2 separate regions of the Homo sapiens genome follow, and region 1 is linked to region 2. The links are contacts of gene promoters, found by promoter capture Hi-C in human tissues and cell types (Jung and others, 2019). All regions are on one chromosome and are shown on one strand. The core of a region is centred on a gene start or on the middle of the fragment in contact, and the rest is flanking DNA. Distances in the headings are between cores, read along the strand shown.

Evidence for each region. The method cuts DNA at HindIII sites, captures the fragments that hold promoters and counts their contacts. A contact is called where the count stands out against the background at its distance.
Region 1: a fragment that was not itself captured here is called in contact with the fragment with the promoter of SLCO1C1 in region 2 in 2 of the 25 tissues and cell types used here (adrenal gland and psoas muscle).

What each region holds. Positions count from the first base shown.
Region 1 is chr12:20,929,436-20,932,963 of GRCh38, reverse strand. All of the region lies in intron 13 of SLCO1B3-SLCO1B7 (SLCO1B3-SLCO1B7 readthrough), which reads right to left. All of the region lies in intron 1 of LOC124902894 (putative solute carrier organic anion transporter family member 1B7), which reads right to left. Among named protein-coding and RNA genes, the nearest start is that of SLCO1B3-SLCO1B7, 120 kb to the right of the region's middle. The HindIII fragment of the contact is 3,901 bases long and covers 1-3,346 here.
Region 2 is chr12:20,693,514-20,696,774 of GRCh38, reverse strand. SLCO1C1 (solute carrier organic anion transporter family member 1C1) reads right to left here and starts at 1,443. Exons shown (of 15, transcript NM_017435.5): 1 at 968-1,443. The HindIII fragment of the contact is 14,433 bases long and covers 1-3,261 here.

The DNA.
Region 1 (3,528 bases), core at 147-2,646, 240 kb before region 2:
GACCTAGAATTTGATAGCATAAGAGGGTTACCATAGTCAGCAGTAATTTATTGAATATTTAAAAATAGCTGAAAGAGTAAAATGGAATTGTTTTTAATACAAAGAAAGGATAAATGCTTGTAGTGATTATACCCCACATTCCCTGGTATGATTATTATGCATAATATGCCTCTATCAAAATGTCTTCTGTACCCCATAAATACATATATACTTACTATGTGCCAACAAAAATTAAACATAAAAATATTTACTTAAAAAAAAGACAAGTGTCTGCATCAAAGGATAAGAGAACAATGTTAGAAAAACTCATCTTCAAAGGGCATTTGTAGTGTCACATATTGTCAAAAGACTGCTTTCCCAGATTCAGGAGGACTCTTTAGACCATTTATGCCACCCATTGTGTCCTATTAGAACACAAACACTAAATTTCCAAAAATAATCTCAGAGAATGAAATGTTTAAAAAGTAGCTTCTGTAATGAAACTGGGTTTCATGAAGGTCATCAAGGTATATATTAAAAACTAAATATGCTCATATTATTTGTAACTTATGGATGAAATAAAAAAGGAAAGGATTTTAGAGGTAGAAGAGGACTTACTAAATTAACATAGGGCTTCTAGTACAAGAGAGTAAAATGGACAGACATATTTCTATTTGTCTTTTTATTCTGCCTCCTATTGAAATGACAGTCAATATATAAAAATGATGTAAATCTCTAATGGTAAAGAGAATGGAGGAAGGAAAGGTAGGGAAACTGAGTGTAAAAACACTACGGTTATTTATGTGTACTATAAGCAGTTGTCCCCAACCCTGGGCCACAGACTTGTACTGGTTGGTGGCCTGCTAGGAACTTGGCCACACAGCAGGAGGTGAGTGGCCTGTGAGCAAGCATTACCGCCTGAGCTCTGCTCCTGTCAGATCACAGGCAGCATTAGATTCTCACAGGAGCACGAATCCTATTGTGAACTGCACATGTGAGCGATCTAGGTTGTGCATTCCTTAGAAGAATCTTACTAATGCCTGATGATTTGAGGTGTAACAGCTTCAATCTGAAACCATTCCTCCCACCACCCCTGGTTTGTGGAAAAATCGGTGCCAAAAAGGTTGGGGACTGCTGCTATAAAGGGAGTGAGAATGTCTGCAGGGATACAACAGAGTGGAGGAAGCTGGAATACAGAATGCACTTAGAAGGAGGCTGGATTGGAGGTGGAAAACTGAGTTGCCAGTTCAGAGTTTGAGCTGGTAGCTGGGCAGAAAGCAGGCTAGTTAATTGAAGGACTTTGTACAGATTCTTTACAGGCTAATATGATTTCCCAAATGATTGGATGCATCATATATAAAGGAAAGCAACTGAGAAGAGAAAGACTGTGTAGAACAGGTTTAGGGGGAAGAATTATGGACTAAGTTTTAGGTACATGAAGTTTGGAATTTTATCTCTTGAGTGTATTAAAAATAACCAAGATTCAAGATGAGGGTAGCCTTGAAACAAGAGAGAGGAGCTCAAATCATTGGAAGAGAGGAGTGTAACTTTGACATAGGTATGACTGCAGCAGTGAGGGCAGCAAAGAAAAGTACTAGGTAATTTCTAACCCTATCCATATGTGATGAGTCACTAATCAGAGTTGTGTGCCTAAGCTTCTAATGCAGGTCTTGGTGAGAAATGATGACTCTAGATTGATGAAGAGGAAGAACAAAATCCAGTCCTTATTGGTGGAATAACAGAAGCAAATATAAGAATGTCTCCTTTGCTACTGGCTATACTTCAGTGGTTACAGCTTAGGCCAATGAGATATTTGGCAGAGGCTTGCAAGTTGGGAAGAGATTTCTTTCTGAAATAAAACAACAAAGCTTTCTGAGAGACATTTTCCTCTATTCTGAACTGTGGATATTAGCCCTGGGGAGCAGTAGCCACCTTGCAACCATGAGGGAAAAAGTCTAGGGAAGAAAGACAACACAGGAAAGGTGGCAGAGCTGGGACACTGCTGGAGGGTTGTTACCCAAGGCAGCACTTAATATATCCACCAGTTGAACAATGAGAACACTTGGACACAGGGTGGGGAACGTCACACACTCGGGCCTGTCGTGGGGTGGGGGGACGGGGGAGGGATAGCATTAGGAGACATACCTAATGTAAACGACAAGTTAATGGGTGCAGCACACCAACATGGCACATGTATACATATGTAACAAACCTGCATGTTGTGCACATGTACCCTAGAACTTAAAGTATAATAAAAAGAAAGAAAAAGAAAGAAAGAAAGAAAGAAAAGAAAAGAAAAGGAAAGGAAAGAAAAGAAAAGAAAAGAAAAGAAAAAAGAAAAAGAAATATCTCCACCAACAGGGATAGGGCTATGTGCTGTGGATTTTTAAGCTTATATATATTTTTTTCTTTTGGAGACAAGGTCTCTCTCTAGCACCCAGGTAGGAGTGTAGTGGTATGATCATAGTTTTTTGTAACCTCCAACTCCTGGGCTCATAACATTATAAAACTTAAATGGAATGCTTATATAAGAAAATAATTCAAAATCATAAATACAAAATGAATGAGGGATCAATCTTTTGACAGAATAGTCCAGAGTTACTTACACTCTGGATTAAACTATTTGTTTTGGTAAACTATTTGTTTACTAGATACATAATATATGAATTATTAGAAAATCTATTAAGAAAAATCAGATAAGGGAAATAGGTACTCTCACAATATTCAAATTGGTCTTGAAAATTTATAAAGGTAATTGAAGCACATTTTCCTTTATATCAAAGAAATAAAAATGAGACTTCCACTTTCCATCAGAGATGCAGGGAGCAGGAATGTCTCACCCACACCCTTACAATAGAAAAAGATGGATAAAATGCAAATCATAACTTTTCTTGAACCCATCAGGAGTTGAGCTTACCAGGCAAACAGCTAACTGGAAATCTAGAGAGAGATGGGCTCCTGTAAGAAGACATAGGATTTGAACACTTGTTTACTTGAAGCAGAAGTCAACCAGTGCTGTATAAGTAAAATGATTCAGCTAGAAATGTTTAATGAGTTGCTAAATACCAAATGTGGCTGGACAAAAGAAAGTGTGAATTCCCTGAAGTCTGCACACATCAGGGGCTTTATGCTTCTTGCAGCTGATTCTTTCAGTAGCCCCACTATGCACTCTATATGAAGATTACAGATAATCTCTAGGCAGCTCCATTGGTACTGGCTGGGGTATGAGAACAGCAACTACTGTTCAAGGCCTGCTCAAGATCAATCTCTCATTTCACCTTTAAAGAATAAAAGTCTTTATCTCCAAAAGGGTAGGACAACAAAAACTATGGTTTGAGAGTACTGGTGAAAACCCTTGCAGCTGGGAAGGGAAACTAGGAGAAAAGCTCCACTCCTTGGAGAGGAACAGGTCATCATCAAGACCAAGATTCACAGAGCTTGCCTAATACTGAGCTTCACGGCAACATCATCCCCTTGCTAATGAGTATCTGGTAACAATAAGAGTGGAATATAGCTGGGAGAGCTGCAAGAGACAGATTGTTTCTGAGT
Region 2 (3,261 bases), core at 194-2,693:
TGCAGGCTCTCTCTCTTCATTTGCAACTGCAGAAGTAGAGCAAGAGTACACAGTTATTCAGAATTATTTGCATTTGGCAAATCCTTAATTGATCTCTGGCCACTTGAATAGATTCTTCCAGGAAAAGACATACGACAGTTTTCATCCAATACCCTGGGTTTGGAGCATAACTTATTCTGGAGGCCAAAGAAAAACAAGCCAAGCAGTTTCTCTTCCTTTGGTTCAAAAACATTGAATAATCAGTCCTCATTAGTTTCAAAATCAGCCCTCCAGATTTTAAATGGAGAGAGCAAGTGGCTTAGGAAGGTTGTAGTTAGATCCCGCAGATGTACTCAACCCCTCTGCTCTGCAACTGACTCGGACTCTGTCCAGCAATCAGTCCCCAAGGACTGCCACAGAGAAAGTCCTAAAGGCAACCACGCTCCTCCCTCTCTTCTCTTGGCCATCTCCTGTGAGGAAAACCTCTGTCCTGGCTTGACTTCTGGACACCAGGATGCCTCCCTTCAGACAAACTAAAAAATAGCCTCACGGCACTTGCTGCAGAGGAGTGTGTGTTGTTTAGAAACTAATTTCTCACCTAATACAAATTATCTGTGTCAGATTCAGATTTAATAAGTACTATTTTTGTGTTGAGTAATGTACGTACTTTTTCTAATCCTTAAAACAACCCAACAAACGTAATATTAGAATTCCATTTTTTAAATTAGATGGCCCAAAGCAATTAAGTGACTTGTCAAAAGCTAAACAATTTATAAGCATGAGACTCAAAATTTGAACTCAAATTTGAGTTTATCTGATTTCTTTAACCAATCTTCTCTCTTATTTCCATCAAACTAATGAGGGGATCATCACCTTTCACTGATATTTTTATGGATAAAACATAAATCGCACAGAAATTAAGGGTTAATCTCCCATAAGAATCTGATGTATTAGTCACAAAATATAAAATGAGAGAACCAAGTCTTACCTGGAGGAAGAGATCAAAGATAGCCAGTTCCTTTCAATGTGCTCAGCAAGAGGATGGACCACACACCACAGACTGAAAGAGGAAACTGAGGTAAACTCCACAGCAATTTTGAACAATTTTGCCAGGTGGGGAGAGTGTGGGTGGACACAAGCAGAGGAGATTAGGGAAAAGAAAAGATGAAGGGCATGGTCTCACCCCTGAGCGATCTCTTCTCTTTCCTCTTTCTTCCTGGCCTCTTTTTTCTGGCAGTCAGCAGAGAATTGGCCACGCTGGCAAGGCCACTGACGTGCATCTCAGCTCCCAGGGCACAGAAAGAGCTGAAGCTTTTGAGCCATTTCTTTGCAATTTGCTGCAAGTTTAAGGCCACACGTGATAAAGCTTTCTTTATGGGAGAGAGTGAATAAAAGAAAAGACCACTTGTGATCTTACTTGCTGATTCCCAGAAAACACAACTCCGCAGGGGGCAGAGGGTAAGGAACAGAAGCCAGAGGAGGGCGGAAGTTTATAACAGAGACCCCTCCTCCTTCCAGAAAGTTTTTAAGCCAACTATTCCTTAGGGACATCACTGGGATCCTTGTGTTTTCTTTGTTTGTGTGTTTTGGTTTTGGTTTGTTTTGTTTTGTCTTTAACGGTTCTTGGGCTAATTTGCTACATGGTTTTCTTTTCCATTGGTGTTCTAGAATCTTTAAGGACCAAGTATCAGGTCACAATCAAAGCTCTGCAGCGCTCTGTACAAAAAGAGTTAATTCTCAGAGACATGATCAGTTGCTCATATTTACAATTTCTATGAGTTTTGAAAACAGAAAAGAAACACGTTGAATTTTTGGCATTCAATTGTTTATTCTGCCTAATTCCAAGGATAAATAAATCCTTGCACTGAGAAAGTCCACAATTCTAATACATTCTTTTTCCAAGAGAAAAACTTTAGAGGATCTTAAGCAGTAGTAGTTTGCATTTATTTTCTACCAATAAATAAATTTGCTACCAGAATTATCCAAGATTCACCCTACTCTTAAGTGGCTGAGACTCTGGGATGGTCACTTAATTTTACTGAGTCTCAACTTCTTCCTTTGTAAAGCAGAATTTTTTTGTTTAAAAAAAAAAAAAACAGATTTATAGGGCTGTTTTAAGGATTAAATTATATAATGTATTCAAAAGCACATTGCAAATGAGCGGAAGGTATCATCATTTTATATATATATATATTTAGTTCACATAATGGTCAGAATAGTTAATATTATTCAAGCACATTTTACTACAAAAGAAAGAAAAGAAAATGCAAGAAAAATGGGTTTATATTAAACCTTGCAATGAAGCAATGGTGTTTTCACACTCTGAAAGGCCAAATATTTTACTTTAACAATCAAACCAGACTTTTCCATCGGAAATAGTGAGCAAACATCCGAATACATTGAGTGTTAGTCTAGACTTCTCAGTGTCTAACAGGTGGCCAGACCACTGTTTTATTCAAGAGGAGACAGTATTTACCAGCCCAAAGGGCATAATTTTCCTCACCAAGAAATGAAATTCTCCCTTGAGAATGTAATTTTGTCTATTCCCAACTGGCTCAGTCTCACTCTCCAACACGATTCCTTTTCTTATTTCCAGAGTCCACAGTTAATGTTACTGTTTTGAATGCACATAATGTTTACACTTATTCAGAGCTTCTTATGTGCAACCTTGCATTGGATTGTAGCCTACTTCAGCCTTTCATTCCCATTTCCAAACTCTAGATGAGGGAGTTAACAAACTTCTATAAAGGGACAAATAAGAAATATTTTAGGTTTTGTAGGACCATGCAATCTCTATCACAACCACTCACCTCTGCCATTCTGGTGGTAAATTAACCACAGACAACATATAAATGAATGCATTTCCTAAGACTGCACTAACAAAGTACTACAAGCTGAGTGACCTAAAACAGAACTTTATTGTCTCACACTTTTGGAGGCCAGAAGTCAAAAATCAAGGTGTCAGCAGAGCCATGCTCCCTCTGAGACCTGTAGGGAAGAATCCTCCTTACCTCTTCCACCTCCTGGTGTTTGCTGACAGCCTGAACTCCTTGTTTTATAGGTGTATCACTCCAACAGCTGCTTCTGTTACCACATGGCCATCTTCTCCCTTTATGTCTCTGTCCTCTGTACTTAAAAAAACGCTAGTCATCTTTGGCTGGGGACCACCCTCATGACCTCATCTTAACTTGATAAGGTCTGCTAAGACTCTCTTTTCAGGAAAGGTGACATTCACAGGTACCGGGGGTTAGGACTTCCTCATATCTTTTTGGGAGACACAAT